7 separate regions of the Homo sapiens genome follow, and regions 1, 2, 3, 4, 5 and 6 are each linked to region 7. Evidence: promoter capture Hi-C in 16 types of primary human blood cells and fetal thymus (Javierre and others, 2016). All regions are on one chromosome and are shown on one strand. Each heading gives the region's core, a stretch centred on a gene start or on the middle of the fragment in contact. The rest is flanking DNA. Distances are from core to core; before and after follow the strand shown.

Region 1 (3,338 bases), core at 839-3,338, 1.4 Mb before region 7:
CGAAGGACCCAGACTTGCGTGGCGAACAGATCCACGTGACCACCAGGGGTCAGCCGTAGAATAGGAGTGGCCTTAAGCGACGACAGAGTCCGGGCGTGCTGTATGGGAGCGGCTAGTCGTGCGCGTGAGCCAGCCCAGGTGGGCTAGGACCTTCAAAACGGTGCGCTGCCGGCCAGCGAGCAGTCCAGGTTTCAATACACAGGAAACTACATCTCCCAGGAAGCACCGCAGCACCGGACCCATCTTTGTGAGCAACTACAAGTCTCAAGCTATCCTGGGACCTGTAGTTTGTCGGCTTACACAATTAACGGAAACCATACTGTACATCTTCAGTCTGACTTAGGGTACTGGGCAGCTATAGCAAAGACCCAGCATTGCCCAGAAAAGGCATAAATTATACCTTTTTCCCCTTTTTTTGAGACGGAGTCTCGCCCTATCGCCCAGGCTGGCATACAGTGGCGTGATCTCGGCTCACTGCAACCTCCGCCTCCCGGGTTGAAGCAATTTTCTGCCTCAGCTAGGGTTACAGTCGCCATCCACCACTCCCAGCTAATTTTTGTATTTTTAGTAGAGACGGGGTTTCACCATCTTGGTCAGGCTGGTCTTTAACTCCTGACCTCGTGTTCCACCCACCTCTGCCTCCCAAAGTGCTAGGATTACAGAAGTGAGCCACCGCGCCCGGCCTAATTATACCCTTTCATATCCATAACTTTGGATTCCGGACCTTTACCTTCAAAGGAAGGAGAGGAAGACTGAAGCCAGAGAACCCACACTAGCAGTTCTCTAATGAGATAAATAACAAACGATATTTTATTTTTATTTTATAAAACATGCAGTTTACAACAAATTTTTAAAAAATGGAACAAAACTTGGGACAGGCAAGTGGGATGGAAGACAGATGCTTCTCAGCCATCAGCAGGAATAAATGAAGCCGGCAGCCAAGCTTTGTCCAGGATCCAAAGGCCCTTTTGGCAATGGTATTGGCAACACTGGTTTGCTTGGGCCACCAACACTCTACTTGCTGGCCCCTCCAGGTATCCCTGAAGCAGTTGGTGACTTGTGCTAAGTCTTGAACTACTGTGGTATCCTCTGTCACTGTCCAGGACTTCAATCCCTAGCCAGCTAGGAACTTACAGTTATGGTTCCAGGAGCTTCTCTGCCTGGATATTAGTCACCCAGGATATTAAGAATACCAATTACTTTCCATCTGGGTCAATTCTAGACTCCATGTCTGTACCACTGTTTTGCAAAGAATGAAGAAGGAATGAATCTGGCTCCTAGAACCTTTGCAACAATTCTGCTGTGTTCCAGTTCAATTAATAGCACCATCTGTGACCCTAGACCCTGAGCACGTCCAGTACTGGAAGTGGACAAGGTATAGCCAACTTAGGAAGCCATCTCCCAGTTCTGGGGCTATAGAACAGTAAAGGGAGAGGGCCGTGGTTCTTTGGGAAGGGTAGTCAGAGCGCCAGCACTGAGGAGAAGACAGCTGCATCTGTCAGAGACAAAACCAAAAGCATGATTCAAGCTGAGTGGAGAAAAAGCATCTTCTCATACTTCCTATGAAGGAAAAATGCAAGAGAAAAAAGGGCATGGACCTTCCCTGAACATTTTAGACTTGGGCAAGAGGAAGTTATAGTTAATGGAGAGTTTCGATAAAATGTATTTTACTGAATGTTAGGAGGATGAAGTGCTTTGTAAACTGTTAAGTGCTATTCTCCATATGTGCAATCAAAATCCACCCAATTGGGGGCGCTCAGGCTCATGCCTGTAATCCCAGCACTTTGTGAGCCCAAGGTGGGTGGATCGCTTGAGCCCAGGAGTTTAAGACCAGCCTGGGCAACATGGCAAAATCCTGTTTCTACAAAAAGTACAAAAATTAGCTGGGTGTGGTGGTGTGTGCCTGTTGTCCCAGGTACTTGGGAGGCTGAGGTGGGAGAATCACTTGAGCCCAGGAAGTCGAGGCTGCAGTGAGCTGTAATCACGCTACTGCACTTCAGCCTGGGTGACAGAGTGAGACCCTGTCACAAACAAACAAAATACAAAATCCACCCAGTCCAGTTTCCCTTGTCCCATCCCAGGTCTTACTCTTGGGACTTGTTTGGCCCTCAGGCTCAGGCACCTTCCAGTCCATCTTTCTGCCCTTCTCATAAAGACCCTTGAGCACCTTGTGGAAAGACTCAGGCTCAGTGCCATTTTTGCTTAGCTCCAGATACTTTCGGTACAGCTGAAGGGCTGTGCGGGCATCCTCAATACTGTCATGGGTTTCCCCTTGAATCTTCAGGTCTGGGGTAAGTAAAGGTGGAATAGTTTGGGACCCAGCAAAGGGAGGTAGGAACATGTCTCCCCACTCCTACCTGACTCCAGAAAACTAAAAAGCCTGACTGCCCTTAAGGAAAATTGTCAGACATCTTCCTCAGTGCACAGAAGGGATATTGAAGTTAATTAAATCCATTAGTAACTGTCACCACTAACTGAGGGTCTCCCCTACTCCCATTTTGTCCTCTAACACTTTTCCTACTTTTTCTTTTCCCCCCATGCTTTTATTTTTTATATTTAAATTTTATTTTAGATTTGGGGTACATGTGCATGTTTGTTACATGGGTGTATCGTGTACTGGTGGGGACTGGGCTTCTGGTATCCCTAATATGCAAATAGTGAACTATGCACCCAATACGTAATTTTCAACCCTCACCCCTCACCCACCACCCCAACTTTTAGAGTCCCTAATGTCATTCTTATGTCCATATGTACTCATTGTTTAGTTCCAACTTATAAGTGAGAATATGTGGTATTTGATTTTCTGTTTCTGAGTTAGTTCACTTAGTATGATGGCCCACAGCTCCATCCATGTTGCCGCAAAGAACATGATTTCTTTTTTTTTAAATGGCTGCTTCTGCTATTAATGTAGCAGGGGCCTACAAGGCAGAGCAACTCACCCAGAAAGTACCAAGCAAGGAATCGCAGGGAAATCATTCGTTTTCGGGGCATATGGAACAGGTAGACAGTGTCAAGGACTTGGTCCTTGGGCACCTGGCAAGGATAAAAGAGGGGGAGACTTAAGGTAGGGGACCTATAATTCCCCATTCTCTAAAGGCACAATGTATACCCTGAGGGGCCCACTCTCACAAGAAGACTCTTAAAAGAGCCCTGCCAAACCATCAGGTTGATGACCCGGAAGTCCTTCTGCAGGCCATGACCCACAAACTTGACTCCAATGTCAATGAGAAAACGAAGCTTTAAGTAGGTAGACTTGAGAGTTGTTAGGTGCTTGGAGGAAATTTTGGCATCGAGGTCACCAGGCTTTATACCCGAGTATTGAGTCAAGTAATCCACCA
Region 2 (3,188 bases), core at 599-3,098, 1.1 Mb before region 7:
ACCCCAACAGCCCCAGTGAGAAGAGCAATGATGCTGCTATCTTACTAGTGATGATGCCACTTTCACACAATCATAAGTGTCTATCTGCTCCCATACTGGATCTTTAATCTAGGGATCTTCATCTAGGTGGGAGGGGTTTTTGCCTGGAAAATAAATAGTGAAAAGATGATTTAAATGACAGGCTTACGTAGTTTTCAGAATAGTCCAAATAATCTGAAAATGTTATCTTTCAAGGCTTGGCCCTGTGGCTTATGCCTGTAACCCCAGCACTTTGGGAGGCTCAATTCGAGTTCGAGACCAGCCTGACCAACATGGTGAAACCCCTTCTCTACTAAAAATACAAAAATTAGCCAGGCATGGTGGCGCATGCCTGTAATTCCAGCTACTGGAGGGCTGAGGCAGGAGGATCGCTTGAACCTGGGAGGCGAGGGTTGCAGTGAGTCCAGATGGTGCCACCGTACTCCAGCCTGGGCAACAGAGCGAGACTCCATCTCAAAAAAAAAAAAAAAGAAAAAGAAAAAAACAAAACTTTATCTTTCAAAATCTAAAATCCTGTGGTCCTGGGGTCATAGGCCGGGCATGGTGGCTCATGCCTGTAATCTCAGTACTTTGGGAGGCTAAGGCAGGCAGGTCACTTGAGCCCAGGAGTTCAAGACCAGCCTGTGCAAACTGGCAAAACCCCACCTCTACAAAAATTACAAAAAATTAGCTGGATGTGGTGGTGCGTGTCTGTGGTCCCAGCTACTCAGGGGGCTGAGGTGGGAGGATCACTTGAGCCAAAGAGGTCGGGGCTGCAGTGAGCTATGATGGCGCCACTGCACTCCAGCCTGGGCATCGGAGTGAGACCCTGTCTCAAAAAAAAAAAAAAAGAAAGAAAGAAAGAGAAAAGAAAAGAGAGAGAGAAGAGAAAAAAAAGAAAAGAAGAGAAGACCAGGCATGGTGGCTCACACCTGTAATCCCTGCACTTTGGGAGGCCGAGGTGGGTAGATCACCTGAGGTCAGGAATTCGAGACCAGCCTGGCCAACATGATGAAACGCCGTCTCTACTAAAAATAAAATAATTAGCTGGATGCGGTGGCGGGCTCCTGTAATCCCAGCTACTCGGGAGGCTGAGACAGGCAACTCGCTTGAACCCGGGAGGCAGAGGTTGCAGTGAGACAAGATCACACCACTCCAGCCTGGGCGACAAAAGCAAAACTCCGTCTCAAAAAAAAAAAAAAAAAAAAAAGACAGAAAGAAAAAAAAAGAAAAGAAAAAGAAAAGAAAGAAAAATAAAATTCTGTGGCCAACTGTTGCCCCTAACCAAATCCAGTGTGCCACAAAATGCCTGGGGACATAGCACACAGTCCATCACTATATGTTACAGGAGAAATATCCTGGGATTATCAAGTGAAAAGAAAGAAAAAAAAAATCTGGGCACGACTTTGCAGGGAACAGAGGAAAAGCTTACCAATCTCCAAGAAGAATAAGAGGGGAGACGTTCTTTTATGGATTAAAGAGTAAGTCATATGATAACAAACTGTACTATTCTAATTAGTTGATTCTGCAGAAGGTAGTATCTCCAGCACCCCTTAGTCAAATAACAAGCTTCCCACAGGGGCTGCCCTTAGGCTAGAATCACCACCAAGGACTGAGTTCACCAATCTCAGTCTGTTAATCAGTCCCTACCCCCGACACACAAATCCATCTAATAGTTAAATCTTCCTCACCCCTTCCTCTTCGTCCATTTCTTAGAATCTACCCTTCTTCACAAGCTCACTTGCTCAGGTGCTCTGCAATATAGAAACTGTCATAATAACTATACTAAAGTAGGACCCCAAGAAGCTACTCGTGCCACAAAAGCTCTCTAGTCTCCCTGACAGCTCTCTATGCTGAGGGAATTTGCATCACTTACATAGAGCGTACCCCGCTGGTAGATAACTGAGTTTGCTTCTCTATGACCTCTAGCTAAAGGGAAAACAAAACGAAACCAGACAGGAAGACAGAGATGTTCTGGAGAAGGGATTGGGATACGTGAGTCAACTGAAGTTGACTACTTCCAGTTGACAAGTTTACAAAAAAAAAAAAAGTCCAACGAAAGGTCTCTCGGGCCACATGGTTGGCAAGATCCAAGCTTGCCCAGAAGGCTTCAGAAAATGAAACCAAATCTGATTAAAATGGACATTTCAAAACAACAAGACACGCAGCAGCAAACGCACAGCTGCCATTTCCCGGCCACTTCCTGCGGGAGGCTGGGGGAGGGGCTGTTTGTGTACAGATAGAGGTGGAAAGCTATCCCCTCCGTCGTCCCCCAAAGCAGACAAATCTCTCACTCCAATTAACCCTACAAAGGACAACTGCTATTGACATTGCCTTCTCCTGAAAACTGGGAACACCGGGAAAGAAAGGGATGATGCGGTATCATCTTTCTGCCACGGAAGCGGGGATCCCCTCAGTGAGGAATCTCCTTGGAAAAAGGAATTCCTCTTTATTCTTCCCTTCTGCCCCTCAGCCCAGCTCAAATTGGAAAGCCTCAGCGGAAGCCCTATCAACCTCCATCCCCGGAGTGCGCGATTCTCCCGGGACGCGAGGGCCCCAAGCCAAGCGCAGCACCACCCTCAGCAAGGAAGGCCCTCTCCTGATCTTCACGCTCAAGAGAATGGGTGCGCTCCCCGAGGGAGACACCCTCAGACCCCTGGAAACCCCTTCCGCCCTCCACTCACCACAGTCAAAACGCCCAGCTCCCCGCAAACGGAGCGTTTTAACCCGCCAAGGGAACCCCCTCACCCACCCCTCGCGCTCAGGCAATCCCCACCCCCACCCGAGGAGGTGGAGCCCCTCCCGGGGATTCCACCCCAAGTCCCCCACAGGAGTCATCTCCACCAGCCAGGCGGCTTCTCCGCCTCCTCACTGTCGCCGGGAGCCCCTACAGCTCCTCCTGCCCCCGCGGCCCCGTCCGGGGTCCTCAGCAGCCCCACCAGCCCTGTTCTCCTCCCAGACCCCAGAGCAAGGAGACCCTCGCCTCGGGTTGGATCCTCGCAGGAAATAAGCTCCCGTCGGCTTCCCGCCCCGGCAAGGCTCAAGCCGGCTCTGGAGCTTCTGTTCCCCGAGGGAAGCCTCGGATGAAAGCGGGGCTCCCTCCCCCTCAGGCCCCTGGCCACAGACCCCACAAACCTGAGGCAGCGGCGTCCAGCCGGGCTCGGGGCTCG
Region 3 (3,493 bases), core at 1-2,500, 1.6 Mb before region 7:
GCTGGGTTATGAGTACATGGATGTGGGGTCAGACCTCAGTGCCTCTCTGGGCAGCACACAGAGTTGCCCACTCCACCCTGTACCCATCATGCCCACTGCAGGCACAACTCCAGATGAAGACTATGAATATATGAATCGGCAACGAGATGGAGGTGGTCCTGGGGGTGATTATGCAGCCATGGGGGCCTGCCCAGCATCTGAGCAAGGGTATGAAGAGATGAGAGCTTTTCAGGGGCCTGGACATCAGGCCCCCCATGTCCATTATGCCCGCCTAAAAACTCTACGTAGCTTAGAGGCTACAGACTCTGCCTTTGATAACCCTGATTACTGGCATAGCAGGCTTTTCCCCAAGGCTAATGCCCAGAGAACGTAACTCCTGCTCCCTGTGGCACTCAGGGAGCATTTAATGGCAGCTAGTGCCTTTAGAGGGTACCGTCTTCTCCCTATTCCCTCTCTCTCCCAGGTCCCAGCCCCTTTTCCCCAGTCCCAGACAATTCCATTCAATCTTTGGAGGCTTTTAAACATTTTGACACAAAATTCTTATGGTATGTAGCCAGCTGTGCACTTTCTTCTCTTTCCCAACCCCAGGAAAGGTTTTCCTTATTTTGTGTGCTTTCCCAGTCCCATTCCTCAGCTTCTTCACAGGCACTCCTGGAGATATGAAGGATTACTCTCCATATCCCTTCCTCTCAGGCTCTTGACTACTTGGAACTAGGCTCTTATGTGTGCCTTTGTTTCCCATCAGACTGTCAAGAAGAGGAAAGGGAGGAAACCTAGCAGAGGAAAGTGTAATTTTGGTTTATGACTCTTAACCCCCTAGAAAGACAGAAGCTTAAAATCTGTGAAGAAAGAGGTTAGGAGTAGATATTGATTACTATCATAATTCAGCACTTAACTATGAGCCAGGCATCATACTAAACTTCACCTACATTATCTCACTTAGTCCTTTATCATCCTTAAAACAATTCTGTGACATACATATTATCTCATTTTACACAAAGGGAAGTCGGGCATGGTGGCTCATGCCTGTAATCTCAGCACTTTGGGAGGCTGAGGCAGAAGGATTACCTGAGGCAAGGAGTTTGAGACCAGCTTAGCCAACATAGTAAGACCCCCATCTCTTTAAAAAAAAAAAAAAAAAAAAAAAAAAAACTTTAGAACTGGGTGCAGTGGCTCATGCCTGTAATCCCAGCCAGCACTTTGGGAGGCTGAGATGGGAAGATCACTTGAGCCCAGAATTAGAGATAAGCCTATGGAAACATAGCAAGACACTGTCTCTACAGGGGAAAAAAAAAAAAGAAACTGAGCCTTAAAGAGATGAAATAAATTAAGCAGTAGATCCAGGATGCAAAATCCTCCCAATTCCTGTGCATGTGCTCTTATTGTAAGGTGCCAAGAAAAACTGATTTAAGTTACAGCCCTTGTTTAAGGGGCACTGTTTCTTGTTTTTGCACTGAATCAAGTCTAACCCCAACAGCCACATCCTCCTATACCTAGACATCTCATCTCAGGAAGTGGTGGTGGGGGTAGTCAGAAGGAAAAATAACTGGACATCTTTGTGTAAACCATAATCCACATGTGCCGTAAATGATCTTCACTCCTTATCCGAGGGCAAATTCACAAGGATCCCCAAGATCCACTTTTAGAAGCCATTCTCATCCAGCAGTGAGAAGCTTCCAGGTAGGACAGAAAAAAGATCCAGCTTCAGCTGCACACCTCTGTCCCCTTGGATGGGGAACTAAGGGAAAACGTCTGTTGTATCACTGAAGTTTTTTGTTTTGTTTTTATACGTGTCTGAATAAAAATGCCAAAGTTTTTTTTCAGCTTCCTGTCTGTCAAATGAAGACATTTCGTATGTTAGATAAGAGATCTGCTCCTCAGCAGTGGATACTCACCTTTCTGTGTTCTGACAGTGCTACTCTGTCCCATGCAGCTTTCTCTAGTCCTACTATTACTTCTATTTCTTTAGAACAACCATAGCGCATAGTCCTTTTCATTAAGGGTTTTAGTAGGAATCTACAAGGCAACCAATTGGGAATAACAAAAAGAACCTACGTGCTTTAGGACTTATAAAAAGCCCTATAAGCCCTCCTTCAGAGGCCAAACACTGAAACCTCCAGATGCTTCTGAATTCATTATCTTAGAAAAGTCATCAAATCTTTTTATTTTTTCACGGTAAGAACTCTCAACAAACATGTCTTTCTGAACACTTCCCTTAGGTGCTCCATCCAGGTGCCTGTTATTGGAACAATAAAGTCATGTTACTTCATTAGGAGTCCGGCCTCTAGATTGCGAGGCCTTTAAATGGATGATCCCTCCGGTGTCTGGCTGCCCAGTTAGCCCCCGTTACCAGCACCCTTGGTCTTCTTCCACCTGTCTGCCCCTCCCTGTTCTCCCAGCTTCGGAGGACGACTGGACCGGCTGGGCGGGTTTCGCCAGCCGACCCAGGGATCCGAAGAAGGGCGCACCCAGCCTCCCCGACCTAGGTGTAGACACTGCCCACCCGCTGCGGCTCCACTCTACTCCACCCCTGCCCGCTCGACTTTAAACCTATTTCCCCGCCGTAGCTCCGCCCCTCTCCCCTCAGCCCGCCCCTCTCTGTTACTGGCTCTCGCTCAGCGTTCTCGGTGGAAGTGGTTTTTCCGGGAGAGACCACGCTTCCCCTCAAGCTCCCCAACGGCTCCGCCTTCCCGCCGGAGCCTGACCCTTCCCAGAGTGCCCGGCGATTCCGGCGTGCGAGGCCCTTGGAGGGCAAGGCCCCAGGGCCTGGCTTAGGAGCGCGAGAGGCAGGCTGGGAATTGTAGTTCGAAGGCCCTCGAGAGCGGCTAGAGTCTGGCGGCCGAGAGGACTAGTTGTCCCAGCGTGCCCTGCGCCTCAGCCCGCGCGCTCGCAGCTTCTCGCTCTCGCCTGCCTGCCCGCTCCCTTGCTTGCTCGCGCTTTCGCTCGCCCTCTCCTCGAGGATCGAGGGGACTCTGACCACAGCCTGTGGCTGGGAAGGGAGACAGAGGCGGCGGCGGCTCAGGGGAAACGAGGCTGCAGTGGTGGTAGTAGGAAGATGTCGGGCGAGGACGAGCAACAGGAGCAAACTATCGCTGAGGACCTGGTCGTGACCAAGTATAAGATGGGGGGCGACATCGCCAACAGTGAGTGCGGCCTCGGGGGTCGGGGAATCAAGGCTGATAGGGAAAGGTAACAGGCTGGCCCGGAAGGGGCTGGAGCGGAGGGGTCATGCGGACTGAGCTACTGAGGGGCCCGCACCGGTCCGCTGGGCACGGCGTGGTGGGAAGACCCGGTGTCGCGCCTGGGACCTGAGCGGGCAGGCCCAGGCTGAAGTCTATGGAGGTGCGGGTCGGCGACCAGGATGAGCGCAGAGAGGGGACCCTGGCAGGCTCCGACCCGAGGCCGTTTGTTAGGAGGCAAGACGTGTTTTCTCTTGTTCCTATCCTTCATTCCCGATTATTGCTTCCTCTGATTCTGGCAGCGGCGAGGCCAC
Region 4 (3,573 bases), core at 729-3,228, 1.0 Mb before region 7:
AAGCACCAGAGTCCTCAGTTGGGCACTCTTTGGGAGAGGAAGCAACAGGTGCCAATGCTGAAGTATGAGAAATACCATCAACCTTTTTTGTACCTGGAGGAGTCCCAGCTGGGGGAAGAGAGGGTGAGGGCACAGACTTTGGGATTTCAGGGGCCAGCACTAAGGTAGCCAGAGGAGCACAGGTATTCTGGGGGGATGGAGCCACAGGGCAATTTTCTGAAGCTGTAGGAACCAAGGGTAAAGTAGTAAGAGTACCTTCCTTAACTGGGTGGTTTTTAGGAGCTAAAGAGACAGTTCCTTCTAGAAAAGGGCTGGCTGTAGTTGTATAAGTTGAGGTACCTTTGGCAGTTGTGGGAGCCACCCCGGCAGGGTCAGCACTTTCCAAAGGAAATGCAGCCACTGTTGGGGTAATGAGAGAACTTTTGAGAAGCGGACCAGCAGAGTCTGGGCCTGCATAAGAATCTGTCTTGATTACAGAGGCCGAGGAGTTAACACCCAGAGGGGAGGTCATACTGCTGGCTGGCTTACCTATAGGGAGAGGCTCCCCAAGGCTTTTCTTTGCTAGGGTGGCTTCAGGAGAAAGAGGTATCTCTGGAGAAGAGGATGTACTTTGGAAAGAAGGGGAATTTTTAGGGGCTGCCTGGACTAACGGTAATACAGTAGGGTCTTTCTTGGTGGTGAGTCCTGCTTGGGCTGGAGAGAAAGGGGCTCCTTCAAGAGAGGCAGGTACAGTTTGGAGGTCTTTTTGTGTTGGAAATTTAACCAATACTGAACTGGGGAGATTTTTGAGGTCTTCAGGGTCTGGCAGAGGAGGAGAGACTGGTATCCTCAGAGTGGTTGCTACTTGAGTAGAAGGCTCTTTGGGAGCCACAGGTGCCATAACCAAGGCAGCAGGGGAAGTTGGTTCTATGTTACTTATGGGACCTGATGACATTGGAGGAGAAACACAAGTAGCTACCTCAAAGGTAGTAGTAGGTGCTGCAGCAATTGTACAGGGGTTAGTCACCACAAGTGGGGTGGTTCCAACAGAAGAAACGGGCATTTGGGCCACTAAAGGATAATGATAAGTGGCATTAGGAGAGCTTTTGAGAATGAGAGAGGTTGTAGGAGATAATGAAAAAGAGGTAGCTACATTTAAGGAGCCAGAAGGGCTGCAGGTTATGCTAGAGATGGTAGAGGGACCTTTGTCAACAGATGGAGCCACCACTGGAAAGGCAGCCACAGTAGCAGGAACTACCTCATTTCTGGAAGGAAGGGGAGGAATTACAGATCTCTGAGAAGGATAAGAGGCCCCTGTGGAAGAATGATCTACAGAAATGGTCTTCACTGTAGGGTCTGACAAAGCACTAGGACCTGTTTGACCTAAAAGTTGGACAGAACCAAAAGAACTCTGATGTAAAGGTGCAAGATGAGAGCCCAGAGAAATGGGAAAATCTGGGGGGGTGTTGGGACCCGCAGTCTTTTGAGAAGAGGTCACCACAGGAAGAGACTGAGTTGAAAGAGATAAGGCAGCAGGTGGACTAACAGGCCCCTTCAGGCTGAGGCTTCCTGGGTTTTGTGGAGAAATCAGAACTGAGGAAATGGTGGTATCTTTGACTTGAGGGGAAGCGATGGCTAGGGTAGTTGTGGGTGTTGTCTGAGGAAGGGAGGCCACTCCAGATTGAATAGAGGCCATGGGAGTCACACAGTGGTAAGGAACAGTACTGACTATACATGGAGGGCTGGGGGTGCCTTTTGGATTAGGGACTACCTCAGAGGGAACTTTATTAAGATTAGTCTTTGGTTCTGAGGGAGCAATGGGAGCTGACAGAGTTATCACTGACCCTGACTCAGCTACAGCCACTGAAGGAGGTGAAGTAAGAAGGTTAGGTGGAAAAGCAGAACTCTTCTGAACTGAGTGGGGAGCCAGGGCAACCAGAGCTAAGGGAGCTGAAGAGGAAGGGGTCCCTTTCAGAGTTGGAGCTATCATGGGAGAGGCTAGAGCTAAGGCAGCTGGGGAGATGGGAGGCCCTATTAGGTTTGGTAGGAAGGTTGGGGCTTCAGGGGCAGTTCCCAAAGGTAGGGCTGTTCCAGAGGATGACTGGGGAAAAGGAACTTCTAAAGGGGTCGAGGCAATAGTAGAGGGGGAAGGGAATGGGGAAGCCTGGTTAGCAGCTGAGAGAGGGCACTGTTGTGGGGCAGGAGAGCAAGGAGGGGGGAGGGTAGGTCCAGGCTGCCCTAAGGCAGCAGTGACACTCAAGGCTGAAGACATAGGTAGCACAGCTGGAGAAAGGCAAAAGGAGATAAAGAAAGGGGGAGGGGGAGGAGAAAAAAGGTGAGTTATGCAGCCCAACTTGGTACAACATGCCTCCTAGGAAACACTGGAGTTTAAAATCTGACAGTCTAAGTCACCACGCAGGATTAGATAAAGGTGACAGGCAACAACAACCTTCCCCAAACATTTTTCAGTGGTCAAGTGAGAAGACATTCCCCTCCTAATTTCTCACACTTCCCCAAGTTCTACCAAAGTAAACCAACTATTTTAGGGTGAGGAGAACAGTCTAAGAGCAGCCTATCTCTAAATGGGGAGCACAGACTCTTGGTAGGTTGAGAACAACATGCTTTCTATCCTTTCCCAGTTGTGCCCTCCCCTTACTTCTTGAAATGGACTGTATTCCCAAGTCTTTCTCACAGCCAACAGAATTCCCACGAGAAGAACAGCTGTGCTACTCTGTCCACCCAAATATCATGAACAGAAAAGATACTGAAAACTGGAACAAAGAAGTTAGTGAGCAGTGACGATGATGGGGAATCTGAACTGAATAAGAAAACACAGGCTTTTATACTTTCAGGCTTCCACTAGGCTAGGAAACATCTGACTCTGTTAGAATAGTTTTGGGAAGGAGGTGCACAGCACAATTCAGTTCTTCCTAAAGTTGAAACACTTCAGAATTTAATATCAAGTATTAAAGTCACTTAGCTTCTTTATACCTTACCAGTTTACTTACTCACAAAACCCAAACAAGAAAACCAACCACAAAAGGACTGTAATAGTCTCTATAAACCTTCCTAGGTGATGTTAATTCTTCAGACATCAATCCAAGATGAATTAGACATGAATTAGACCTCCAGGCAGAGAGCTTACTCACAAGGGTAGGGACTGTATTATGAAACTGTAACCTAACTTGTTAAACCAGATTGTGGTGCTATTTTGGAAGAAGAGAATTGGAGAGCCTGTAACAGTGGCTCATGCCTGTAATCCCAGCACTTCGGGATGCCTGGGAGGGCGGATCACGAGGTCAGGAGTTCCAGACCGACCTGACCAACATGGTGAAACCCCGTCTCTACTAAAAATACAAAAATTAGCTGGGCGTGGTGGTGTACACCTGTAATACCAGCTACTCAGGAGGCAGAGGCAGGAGAATGGCTTGAACCCAGGAGGTGGAGGTTGCAGTGAGCCAAGATCGCGCTACTGCATGCACTCCAGCCTGGGTGACAGGGTGAGACTCCGTCTCAAAACAAAACAAACCAAAGAAGACAATTGGAGTGGCGAGAATACACTGGATCCCCACTCCTTAACTTGGAATTTAAGTG
Region 5 (3,536 bases), core at 859-3,358, 1.5 Mb before region 7:
AGACCAGCCTGGGCAACATAGTGAAACCTTGTCTCTACAAAAAATACAAAAATTAGCCGGGCATGATGGCGTGAGTGCCTGTAGTCCCGGCTACTGAGGAGGCTGAAGGGGGAAGGTCAACTGAGCCGAGGAGGCAGAGGTTGCAGTGAGCAGAGATCGCAGCACCGCACTCCGGCCTGGGTGACAGAGTGAGACCCTGTCTCAAAAATAAATAAATAAATAAATAAATAAATAAATAAATAAATATGAAAGGATACTGAATACTGTTATCCTCAAGTAAGATTATTTGTAGCAACAGAATACAAAATAAGGCTGGGTGCAGTGGCTCATGCCTGTAATCCTAGCACTTTGGGAAGCCGAGATGGACCAATCACCTGAGGTCAGGGTTTTGTTTTGTTTTTTTTGGCGGGGGGTGTGGGGAGACAGAGTCTCACTCTGTTGCCCAGGTTGGAGTTCAGTGGTGGAATCTCAGCTCACTGCAACCTCTGCCTCCTGGGTTCAAGCAATTCTCCTGCCTCAGCTTCCCAAGTAGCTGGGACTACAGGTGCATGCAGCCATGCCCCGGCTAATTTTTTATATTTTTAGTAGAGACGGGGTTTCACTGTGTTGCCCAGGCTGGTCTCGAACTTTTGAGCTCAGGCAATCCGCCCGCCTCGTCCTCCCAAAGTGCTAGGATTACAGGCGTGAGCCACCGCGCCCGGCTACAGTCAGAGGTTTGAGACCAGCCTGGCCAACATGGTGAAACCCCATCTCAACTAAAAATACAAAAAATTAGCCAGGCATGGTGGCAGGTACCTGTAATCCCAGCTATTCAAGAGGCTGAGGCAGGAGAATCGCTTGAACCCAGAAAGAGGTGGCACTGAGCCGAGATTGTGCCACTGCACTCCAGCGTGGGTGACAGAGTGAGACTCCGTTTCAAAAAAAAAAAAAAACAAGAATGCAAAATAAATTTAGAGTACTGAGAGTCGGAGAGGAAATGCTTGACAAAAGCTTGTTCCTTCTTTTTACTAGAAGGCAGGGCTAGCCACAGGTCGGTCGGCTTAACATTGCATCACTCACATTCCCTACCACTAGTCCACTACATTCTTATTTGGGGCAAAACTATCAGCCAACAACACTATCAGTCTCTTGCCCTATTGTCAGACTCTAAAACCCCTGTATAGAAAGGGATAACACTATCACGGGCCAGTCCCCAAGAACAGTGGCCTCAATAACAGCCCCACTTGCTATTAAATGAAATGAAGTTTCTGAACGGGGAAGCAGTCTGTCAATCCCTCAAGCAAAACGCCTTCACCCCTCCTGGCTTTCTGCTCTTCCTCTAGCCCCCTCCTCCCCACTACCCAATTTCCCAAAGTCCTGAGTTAGGGAAGGCCTTCCAGTGTGTGGTGTGTGAACCCTGCCAGAGAGCCAGGCTGCAAACCAAGCGCAGGGATGTGAAGAATGTGAGATTCCTTCATGGAGGGCTGGGAGGGGGTGAGGAGCGGGGAAGGAATGAGAGGACAAGGCTGCCAACGACAAGGCATGGGAGAGGAGCCAAGCTATGGCGCTTCGAGGGCGGGGGTTTAGGTTCCACCGCCCCTGCCCAGGCTGGCCCCCGGAATGCTCCCTTCCTCCCCTTCTGGCCCGTCAATCATTGCCCATTTAAACACCACGCTGTTCCCCCAGTTCTGCAGGTGCCGGTCCTCCAGCTAGCCCCGGCCCCCTCCCGCACTTCTCAAAGCTCCCCTATTCCAATGGACCTTCCCCAACAACCCGTTCTCCAGAGCCCCCTTCTCACCTCCCGACTCCTCGCCAGTGCTGCTCCCTTCTCACATTTTTATCTCTACCACCATCCCTCCTCCTGAACCCCAGTTATTTCAACCCCCCGCCCCAATACCCCTGGGACATCACCTCCTCCCCTCCCACACCCTCTTTTAGGTGGAAGATCGCGCAGGCGCAGTACGCACCGCCCTGGAAGCGGCCTGGAGTCTCCGCAACCTGACCCAGTCGGAGCTGAGGCCGCAGCGGCCACAGTACTGCCCTGGTGCCGGGTCCCAGCCTCTCCCGGGAAGGGAAGGGAAAGGGGAAGGAGGGGAAAGAAGACTCCTACCACTCGTCGCCGCCTCAGACGGATCCTTTGCCCCGCCCACCGCTGCTACGCAACCCGGCGGAAGCTCGTCACCAAACCCCGCCTCTTTGTTTAACTCAGCCCCTACACCAGCAGCCAGGAGCTGCCTACGAGGAGGGACGAAGGCTGGCCAGGCCTCCACTCTAGACAGGAAGTCTAGTCTAGAGTCTATATGGTCCCAGCCAGGACTATGTAGCCATTTAGGAGGGAGAACTCTATGTTCTTCCCGGCAAAAACGTGTGGGCCTGGCCGGCCACGCTTCGCTTTGGAGGGGTGCAGGTGACTTGTGTCTTAGAGCTGACGCAGATTGTTGCGAGATCATTGCGGAGAGGCAGGCCTGCAGCGTGACCTGCTGCGGGTCCGGCCCCTCTCCCTTTTCCAGAGCCCTGGTCAGCATCCCAGAGCTTCGTAACCCCTTGACTCCTGTCATGGGAATGGATATTGCAGTTAACAAGGCGGCCGCGGGGTGGGGAGTGAGGGAGTCTGACCGCAAAGCTTAGATCTGGGGTGCTCAACGGGTTGTCTGCCTCTCTCCCAGGCGCTCTCCTGCCGTATCCACGATGGCTCCCCGAACACTTGTGGAGTTCCCTGAAACACCTAAGAGGAAGGAAGGGAGAAAAAATTTCCCTCTTCCTGAGTTGGGGTTTGATTTCCTTAGCTTACAACACCGTGGTGTTGGGGATGTGGGCGGTAGAGAACGTGGGATCCAAGGGAAGTCAATGTGGAGCCTAAAGAGCTCCGTGAGCAGATAAGGGATTAATTAAGCAAACCAAGGCATTACAATCACATGACTTCCTAGACTAATCTGGTATTAAATAGTATGGTATTTATTGTGGACATTGGCTAAGCAAATGCTAATGCACATTAATACACACATACACACATATCTTTATGTAATTTGTTTATACACAACAATACAGAGCTAGCTACCTTTTGTGGACAATTTGACAGGTCCCAAAAGGAACTAAAGTTTCAGGCCTCCTTTCTGCTGTCTTCTAGCGGGACTCTGAGATAAGTAAGATAAGAGTAGTATGGCCGGGCGCGGTGGTTCATGCCTTTAATCCCAACACTTTGGGAGACCGAGGCTGGTGGATCACGAGGTCAGGAGTTTGAGCCCAGGCTGGCCAACGTGGTGAAACCCCGTCTCTACTAAAAATACAAAAAAAGTAGCCGGGCGTGGTGGCGGGCGCCTGTAATCCCAGCTACTCGGGAGGCTGAGACAGGAGAATCGCTTGAACCCGGGAGGCAGAGGTTGCATTGCAGTGAGCCGAGATCGCGCCACTGCACTCCAACCTGGGCGACAGAGCAAGACTCCTTTGCCGGGGTGGAGCGGTGGGGCGGGGCGGGGAAGAGTAGTATGGCCAGGTGCAGCGGCTCACGCCTGTAATCCTAGCACTTTGGGAGGACGAGGTGGGCGGATCCCTTGAGG
Region 6 (3,293 bases), core at 742-3,241, 1.6 Mb before region 7:
GAGTTTGATGCTCGGGGTGGAGGAGGCACTGGTGGGGGCTCAACAGGCTCAGTCCTCCCAGGACGACGTCATGATCTCTATGATATCTATGACCTTCCTGACAGGGGCTTTGAGGACCATGAGCCAGGCCCAAAACGCCGGCGAGGTGGATGCTGCCCCCCTGATGGCCCTCATTTTGAGTCATATGAATATAGTTTGGCTCCACCGCGAGGGGTGGAGTGCAGACTGCTAGAGGAGGAGAATGCCATGCTCAGGAAGCGGGTAGAGGAGTTAAAGAAGCAGGTCAGCAACCTGCTGGCCACCAATGAGGTACTACTGGAACAAAATGCTCAGTTCCGCAATCAGGCCAAGGTCATAACCCTGAGCTCCACTGCACCAGCGACTGAGCAGACTCTGGCCCCCACTGTGGGCACTGTTGCCACTTTTAACCATGGCATTGCCCAGACTCACACTACTCTCAGCAGCCAGGCTCTACAGCCTCGTCCAGTGTCCCAGCAAGAACTGGTGGCCCCTGCTGGAGCTCCAGCTGCTCCCCCAACTAATGCTGCACCTCCTGCTGCTCCACCACCCCCACCCCCACACTTGACCCCAGAGATCACGCCACTGTCAGCTGCCCTGGCTCAAACAATTGCCCAGGGAATGGCACCTCCACCTGTCTCCATGGCTCCTGTGGCTGTATCTGTGGCTCCTGTGGCCCCTGTGGCTGTATCGATGGCCCAACCCTTGGCAGGAATCACAATGAGCCACACCACCACTCCCATGGTGACTTACCCTATCGCTTCCCAGAGCATGCGCATCACGGCCATGCCACACTGATGGGGCTAATGGACACTCCCCTGGTATAGCCTCGCAGGGCTGGGGTCAGGGGGCCCTTGCCCACTCACCTAGCCTTCCCCATCCCTGTCTGAAGGGCTCCCTTGAGAACTAGGACAAGAGACTACAAGGAGTATGTCCTGAGGAGGGGTTGGGATGGTGTGTTTTCTCTCACCTCCCTTTTATGAGGGTCCTCTTGTCCATCTTCAAGCCTCACAGTGGGGGCTTGCAGAGGAGTGCAGACTGAAGCCAGCAGAGAGGAAGGACTGACTGAGGGGCTGTGTCCTCTTATGGGAATTTGGGAACATCCCTCGTCTTGTCCTCTCTTCTGCACAGCACAGGTTCCAGCACTGGTTTTAGAAGAAAAAAATACCCTGCCCAGAGGGAAAGCCAGGAAAGATTGGGAAGTGGGTGGTCAGGAGAGAAGGCCTGATAGGAGCCTTCAGACAATTTGGGTCCTAGTTGCTTGGGTTGGACAATACAGGAATTGCTTCTGGGCCCTGGGAAAGCTGGGACCATAGTGCTCCAGCCCAAAGACTAGGGGAGCATTCATTACCCTAGTTTGACCTGAAAATCCATAGGGCAGGGCCCACTACTTTCCAAAGAAATAAAAGAACAATTATTTTTAACAAATGGAGGCAGTGAAAACTTGCTTAGCTATTCTGTGTGGAAGATGGGAGCAGTAAATAGATCTCATGCCAAAATGGGATAAAGACCCCAGCCTCACATAGCTTTGGTAAGATGGATAGAAGCCAGTGAAGAAGGGTAGGGACCCAGAACAAGACCAAATGGGGCTTTGGGGAAGGCACTTTATGGGGTAAAAGCTTTGGAGCCACCCAGTCTAGTTTTAAAAATAGTCCCATCTGTTTCTGGTCTCTGTCTGTATGTGCTATTCCCAGGTTGCCTCAGTAACCAGGGCTCCTAGGGTCATTTAGCAGGGCAGGCAGTAAGGAGAGTGTATTTGCTGAAATGCGGATGGGATGTTACATAGTTGACAGATCCTTATTCAAACAGAGCAGGACAGGTGGAGTTGATGGCCATTGAGTTGATGGCAGTTGCCGCTCAGTTGATGGCAGTTAATGTCCCTCCTACCCCACCCCTTCAGTGGCCAGTTCCTGAAGCCTTCAAGGCTTGGGAGGTCTGGGAAAAGAGAGTCCTTCTAGGGACACAAGCCTCAGGGTCCATCCCTTTCCTCTGTCTCCACATAGGACCAGAAGTTTTAAATCTACTTAAGTCAGTAAGGCCAGGGGCCCCAATAGTCAAACCTCAGTTCCTCCTCAGCTCACGGCTGATGTAGGGAAAACAACTCAGGTGTCTAGTCTAATGGGACAGTAGATTTGGGGGTAGAGAGTGATCCTGGATTGTGTTCCCCCTCATCATGTCTCCTGCTACCTCTTGCTTTCTTGTCTGGTTGATCACTCAGGTCACATCTGGGATTGGAGATGGTGGGCTAGGTCAAGGCCAGTCATTAAAAAAAAAAGCCTAAAGACTAAAAGTGGGCTAACATTGTGGATTTTAGAAACAACACATTGATAAGCTTAATGTTTTTTGGGACACAATTTTTTTTTTTTTTTTTGAGATGGAGTCTTGCCCAGTCACCAGACCGGAGTGCAGTGGCGCAATCTCGGTTCACTGTAACCTGCGCCTCCTGGGTTCAAGCGATTCTCTTGCGTCAGCCTCCCGAGTAGCTGAGACTACAGGCGCCCGCCACCACGCCCGGCTAATTTTTTTATTTTTAGTAGAGACGGGGTTTCATCGTGTTGGCCAGAATGGTCTCTATCTCTCGTGATCCGCCCGCCTCAGCCTCCCAAAGTGCTGGGATTACAGGCATGAACCACCGTGCCCGGCAATTCTAGACTATTAAAAGAGATGGTTTAAGAGCATTTAGAGAAGAATGTAACCATAGATACCAACATGAATTCTCAGTCAAATCCTGACTGACTTTATTTCCTCCTTGCCAGGTTATCTCCAAAGAGGTAGATTTGGGAAATTTTAGACATTGTATGTCTTGTATGTATTTACTCCAGCTGAAGACCACCAAGAATACACCTGGTAATTGAGCAAGTTGGGTTTAATGCTCATTGCAGTGAGGGGGAGGGCTCACCATTGGGGATAACGTGGTGTGTCTCAGCATGAGGGTGTTAGGAACGACTTAGAGAACTTAGACTTTGGTTAAGTGATTTTGGGGAAGATTCAAGAAAGTGGGTGTTCTTTTGGATTGGGTGCTGTTAAGGGAATCCAGGATAATTGGGTAGCTTGTCTAGAAGAAGGGCAGACAAGTGAACCTAAGCACAGTCGATGATGAAGTCACTCACTAGCTGGGAAAGGGGATGTTTGCTGTTTTGTGGTTTGCACACTGACCTTGTTTTGTGCTTAAACAAAATTGTGTAGTGATTTTGTTTTTTGTCTCACTTCATCGCAGTCACTGAGTGACCTTGTCTGATGCTGGTGTTTTGTGAGATTGTTTGTGTCCAAGAGAA
Region 7 (3,350 bases), core at 1-2,500:
CTAGGCCTCTTAGAAACTGGCGCATCAGATCCTAGTTTCAAAGGGGAGGTACAGATGCACTGGAAACTAGGCACCATACCTGAAATCCCAGAAGGTTCTACTACAAAGGTCCCAATCCACCTCTCAATGCCTACCAACCCCACTCACCTTGATCGTTTCGGCTGGCAAGCCTGGTGGGGGTGCCTTGTCCAGATATGTCCTTAGGTCCTGGTCTACATGCTCAAACACCAGGGTTACCTTGATCTCCCGGTCAGTTCGGGATGTGGCACAGACGTCCATCAGCCTGACCAGAGTAAATGCTCACTTTTCAATCCCCTTTAACCCAACATGGCCTCTCATTATTTCCTCAGGGTCCCCACTTCTCTACAGATCATCACACCCCACCTATAGGCTGTCTTTTCCCTTTACTCCCCACGCCCAACCCTCCACCACCTTCTCACCGGACAACATTGGGATGCTCAAAAGCCTCCAGTCGCCTCAGTAAAGCCACCTCACGAACTGTGCTGATGGGAAGGCCTCCTCCACCTCCTCCTCCATTGGGGACTCTCACACTCTTGAGGGCCACAAAGTGGCCACTGTGGGGATCACGGGCCTTGTACACTGTCCCATAGGCACCGACACCAATTTCAGCCACTGGCTCATATCGAGAGGTAGCCATTCTCAGATCAAGGGAGACCCTACAATCACAGACTCCTATCACCAAAAGTCGCTTACAGAGTTAGGATGGTATGAGCCTGCAGCAACAAAGGGACTCCCAAAAAAAAAGCGCAAAGAACACCACCAGCATCCCATCCCCCGCTCCCAGTCTTCCTTGGGGCCGGCCCCAGAGATAACACAATGACTCAATACCAACCCCTCCAGCCACGTGAGGCCCTGCAATAGAAAACGCTTTTTCCTTTGGGACAATCGCGCCCCGCACAAAGATCACACATGACACATGCCTTGCATCGAAGATCCTACACCTCAGTCCCTAAAATTATACTTTCCCATGACCACAAAGGCCCCACTTCCCGCCCTTGAGCGACCCTTCCATAACCAGCTCGCGAAACGAACGCGTGGAAAGCTGTGAGGGGGGCGGGCACTGGTTCTCATTCCTGGGAAGGGACTGCACTTACCTCACGCCAGCCCGGGGTGCTGTGGGGGCGGCCCGTTATCGGGGCCCCGGAGCCGGTTCCTACGGCCCCATACACCCGAGCTCGGTCCGGAGCAGCTGGACGCAGAGGGCCCGACCATAGACACAGGCCGCAAGCTAGAGAGGCCCCCTCACCCCCACCCTCACCATGTGACCAGCTGCCAAAGAGGCGCGCGGAAACTGGGAGGGCGGGGCGAACGCCGGACGTTCTGGGCACGTGACCGCCACCCATGCGCTGAGGGGCGGACAGGAGGTGCTTCGACTGGGAGGAGGGCGAAGAGTGTAAGGGGGCGGAGGGGCGATGGCAGCCACGTGATCTGTTGCTATCACACGTGACCGCTTGACATTGCTCTGAGGAGCAGAGGTGTGGCTACGCGGCGGGCACGTGACTGGCTGCCACAACCCCCGCTGCAGGGGGGGAGCGGTGAGGGGGACAAGAGAGGGTGGAGCCCGAGGCGGTGCCATGGCAACCTAGGCCACCCAGAGCCCAACTCCCGGCTGAAGGATTGTCTCACTACCGGTCTGAAGGCTGAACTCCAGTCTCACTACCGGTCTTTCAGCCTGTCTGCATTGGGGAGGGGGTGGGAGTTGGGGTACCAGAGGTGATGCTGTCACCTTTTCGCTCCACCATGAGAAAACATACTCTCATTTGTGTCATTGTTTCATTCATTAATTCTACAACATTTTACTGAGTGCTTGCTTCCAGTGTGTATGTGGGTTTTTATTTTGTTTTTGGTGTCTGTCACTGGCCCTTTAAAGTAGTGGTACGACTATCTATAAAGATGTAGCCAACAATGGGGTCTTCTACAATAGGGAGTAAACAATGCCCATTTGAGGGCAAAACTACGATTAAAGGATGACGGAAGGCAGATTAATACAGTAATCCAACAGGCTCAGTGACAAGGTAATCCTCTCACTTTTCCAACTTCCAAACCTCCCTGGGAGTGTTAATGCAAAGACCTGAGGCCATCTGGCAGAGAAGTTATTGATGAGCAGGAGACAGGAATACTTGACCTTTTAAGTTTTTTTTTTTTTTCCAGTAGGAAGGTTCTATGATTATGTGATATTTGTATGTGTGCATATATGCTTCTATGTATATATGTATGTATATGATATTATTTATCACATCATATATAAGACGGATACAGGATTGCACATGTGCAAGAAAGTTACCACCACACCCCCTGCACCCTCCAGACCACCACAATGAATGAAAATGACATGCCCCCTTCTGCAAACCTTGTGACTACTCATTTGGAGTTATTGTGCTTCCCTCTTTTTCCCTAGTGCCGCTTTCTTAGCACTTAGCACTGTCCAGAACACACTTGTTCCCAAATGGCCTCTGCCCAGACACCTAGGTAGACACAAGTAGATTTCTCCTACTTTGTTTTATTGGCTCCAAGGTCTTTATCTCCCAGCCCTTTGGGGGTATGGGAGTAAAGGAGGAAAGCGGTTAGTGTCTCATTTGTGAGAATTTGTCTAAAATCTAAAGCCATTTTATTACCCTATTTGCCACTCCTTCCACTCTAACTTCTGTTTTCCTTAACCATCTGGCTGAGAATATAAGAGTTCAAACTAGAAGATGAATATAAACCATGACTTAGAGCAAAATAGAATACATATTAATACAGATGCCTCCTCTTTCCATCCTGATACTTGTAGCCCTGGGCCCCTCCTGGCAAGGGCAGCTGGAACACTAGTAAGAAAAACCTCAAGGACTGAACTGACTAAGGGGCTCAAGAGGTGAATGTTTTATTGGCTACCTTGCTAGGGGTGGGTGCTTTGTAAGCCTTCTGGAAGGCTAAGATAATTGTCTGTGAGTTTTTCAAACTCCCTTCCCACACCAGCATTCCCCACTTCAGCCTCACCTTCCACATAAGACCTTCACAGCTTACTGTCTTTGCAACAGAAGACGTCCTCTCTGTCTGCTTGGGTCCCAGCCCCTTTTTCTGATTCATTCATTAGTCCATCCAAAACATTTGAATACTTCATGGGAACATTACTGTCTCTCCATCACTTTCTATTGAGGAACCTTAATTTGGCAGTCTGTCCCAGGCTCTGTCCCCTCCCTTCTTCTGTTAATTACTCTTTCACTAATTAAATTTTTTCCCAGTATGTTTGACCCAATGAGCTCCCCTGGAATCCCTTTTCCCTCAGCTTTGCAAAGGGGAGGAGAGGGAGAATGTAAGTGTAAGAAAGAAAAAAATGTGATGGGGGT

Evidence for each region. Contacts are between HindIII fragments. The CHiCAGO score rates a contact against its expected background, and 5 or more counts as called.
Region 1: a contact is called between a fragment that was not itself captured here and the fragment with the promoter of CDK4 in region 7, in 2 of 17 cell types (monocytes and non-activated CD4 T cells). The highest score is 9.0, in monocytes.
Region 2: a contact is called between a fragment that was not itself captured here and the fragment with the promoter of CDK4 in region 7, in 3 of 17 cell types (total CD8 T cells, fetal thymus and non-activated CD4 T cells). The highest score is 8.0, in total CD8 T cells.
Region 3: a contact is called between a fragment that was not itself captured here and the fragment with the promoter of CDK4 in region 7, in 1 of 17 cell types (monocytes). The highest score is 13.5, in monocytes.
Region 4: a contact is called between a fragment that was not itself captured here and the fragment with the promoter of CDK4 in region 7, in 1 of 17 cell types (non-activated CD4 T cells). The highest score is 5.1, in non-activated CD4 T cells.
Region 5: the fragment with the promoter of RNF41 here is called in contact with the fragment with the promoter of CDK4 in region 7 in 1 of 17 cell types (M0 macrophages); the score reaches 5.8 in M0 macrophages.
Region 6: a fragment that was not itself captured here is called in contact with the fragment with the promoter of CDK4 in region 7 in 2 of 17 cell types (monocytes and non-activated CD4 T cells); the score reaches 6.7 in monocytes.

The regions. Positions count from the first base shown.
Region 1 is chr12:56,316,149-56,319,486 of GRCh38, forward strand. PAN2 (poly(A) specific ribonuclease subunit PAN2) reads right to left here. Exons shown (of 26, transcript NM_014871.6): 23 at 3,160-3,338; 24 at 2,940-3,033; 25 at 2,089-2,286; 26 at 788-1,495. The coding sequence ends at 1,461. It also overlaps a transcript of CNPY2 not described here. Among named protein-coding and RNA genes, the nearest start is that of CNPY2, 1.8 kb to the left of the region's middle. RefSeq lists enhancers at 1-413, 44-193. The HindIII fragment of the contact is 2,294 bases long and covers 942-3,235 here.
Region 2 is chr12:56,626,972-56,630,159 of GRCh38, forward strand. It overlaps BAZ2A (bromodomain adjacent to zinc finger domain 2A), which reads right to left. Exons shown (of 29, transcript NM_001300905.2): 1 at 3,154-3,188. Among named protein-coding and RNA genes, the nearest start is that of BAZ2A, 1.8 kb to the right of the region's middle. RefSeq lists an enhancer at 232-733 and a silencer at 2,942-3,188. The HindIII fragment of the contact is 526 bases long and covers 1,586-2,111 here.
Region 3 is chr12:56,101,683-56,105,175 of GRCh38, forward strand. It overlaps ERBB3 (erb-b2 receptor tyrosine kinase 3), which reads left to right. Exons shown (of 28, transcript NM_001982.4): 28 at 1-1,823. The coding sequence ends at 373. It overlaps LOC105369782 (a long non-coding RNA gene), which reads right to left and starts at 2,737. Exons shown (of 2, transcript XR_944995.4): 1 at 2,606-2,737; 2 at 2,132-2,236. It overlaps PA2G4 (proliferation-associated 2G4), which reads left to right and starts at 2,877. Exons shown (of 13, transcript NM_006191.3): 1 at 2,877-3,143. The coding sequence starts at 3,056. RefSeq lists enhancers at 2,572-2,921, 2,932-3,151. The HindIII fragment of the contact is 842 bases long and covers 830-1,671 here.
Region 4 is chr12:56,719,198-56,722,770 of GRCh38, forward strand. NACA (nascent polypeptide associated complex subunit alpha) reads right to left here. Exons shown (of 9, transcript NM_001365896.1): 3 at 1-2,262. Among named protein-coding and RNA genes, the nearest start is that of NACA, 4.3 kb to the right of the region's middle. RefSeq lists an enhancer at 1,619-1,738. The HindIII fragment of the contact is 4,291 bases long and covers 1-3,573 here.
Region 5 is chr12:56,219,814-56,223,349 of GRCh38, forward strand. RNF41 (ring finger protein 41) reads right to left here and starts at 2,109. Exons shown (of 7, transcript NM_005785.4): 1 at 1,947-2,109. It also overlaps a transcript of NABP2 not described here. RefSeq lists enhancers at 2,031-2,080, 2,067-3,001, 2,301-2,520, 3,002-3,536, 3,352-3,536. The HindIII fragment of the contact is 1,612 bases long and covers 989-2,600 here.
Region 6 is chr12:56,121,052-56,124,344 of GRCh38, forward strand. It overlaps ZC3H10 (zinc finger CCCH-type containing 10), which reads left to right. Exons shown (of 3, transcript NM_032786.3): 3 at 1-3,293. The coding sequence ends at 816. Among named protein-coding and RNA genes, the nearest start is that of ZC3H10, 4.4 kb to the left of the region's middle. RefSeq lists an enhancer at 104-1,101. The HindIII fragment of the contact is 713 bases long and covers 1,636-2,348 here.
Region 7 is chr12:57,751,060-57,754,409 of GRCh38, forward strand. CDK4 (cyclin dependent kinase 4) reads right to left here and starts at 1,251. Exons shown (of 8, transcript NM_000075.4): 1 at 1,116-1,251; 2 at 441-677; 3 at 148-283; 4 at 1-31. The coding sequence starts at 658. RefSeq lists silencers at 401-540, 1,271-1,350, 1,581-1,700 and an enhancer at 877-1,610. The HindIII fragment of the contact is 8,675 bases long and covers 1-3,350 here.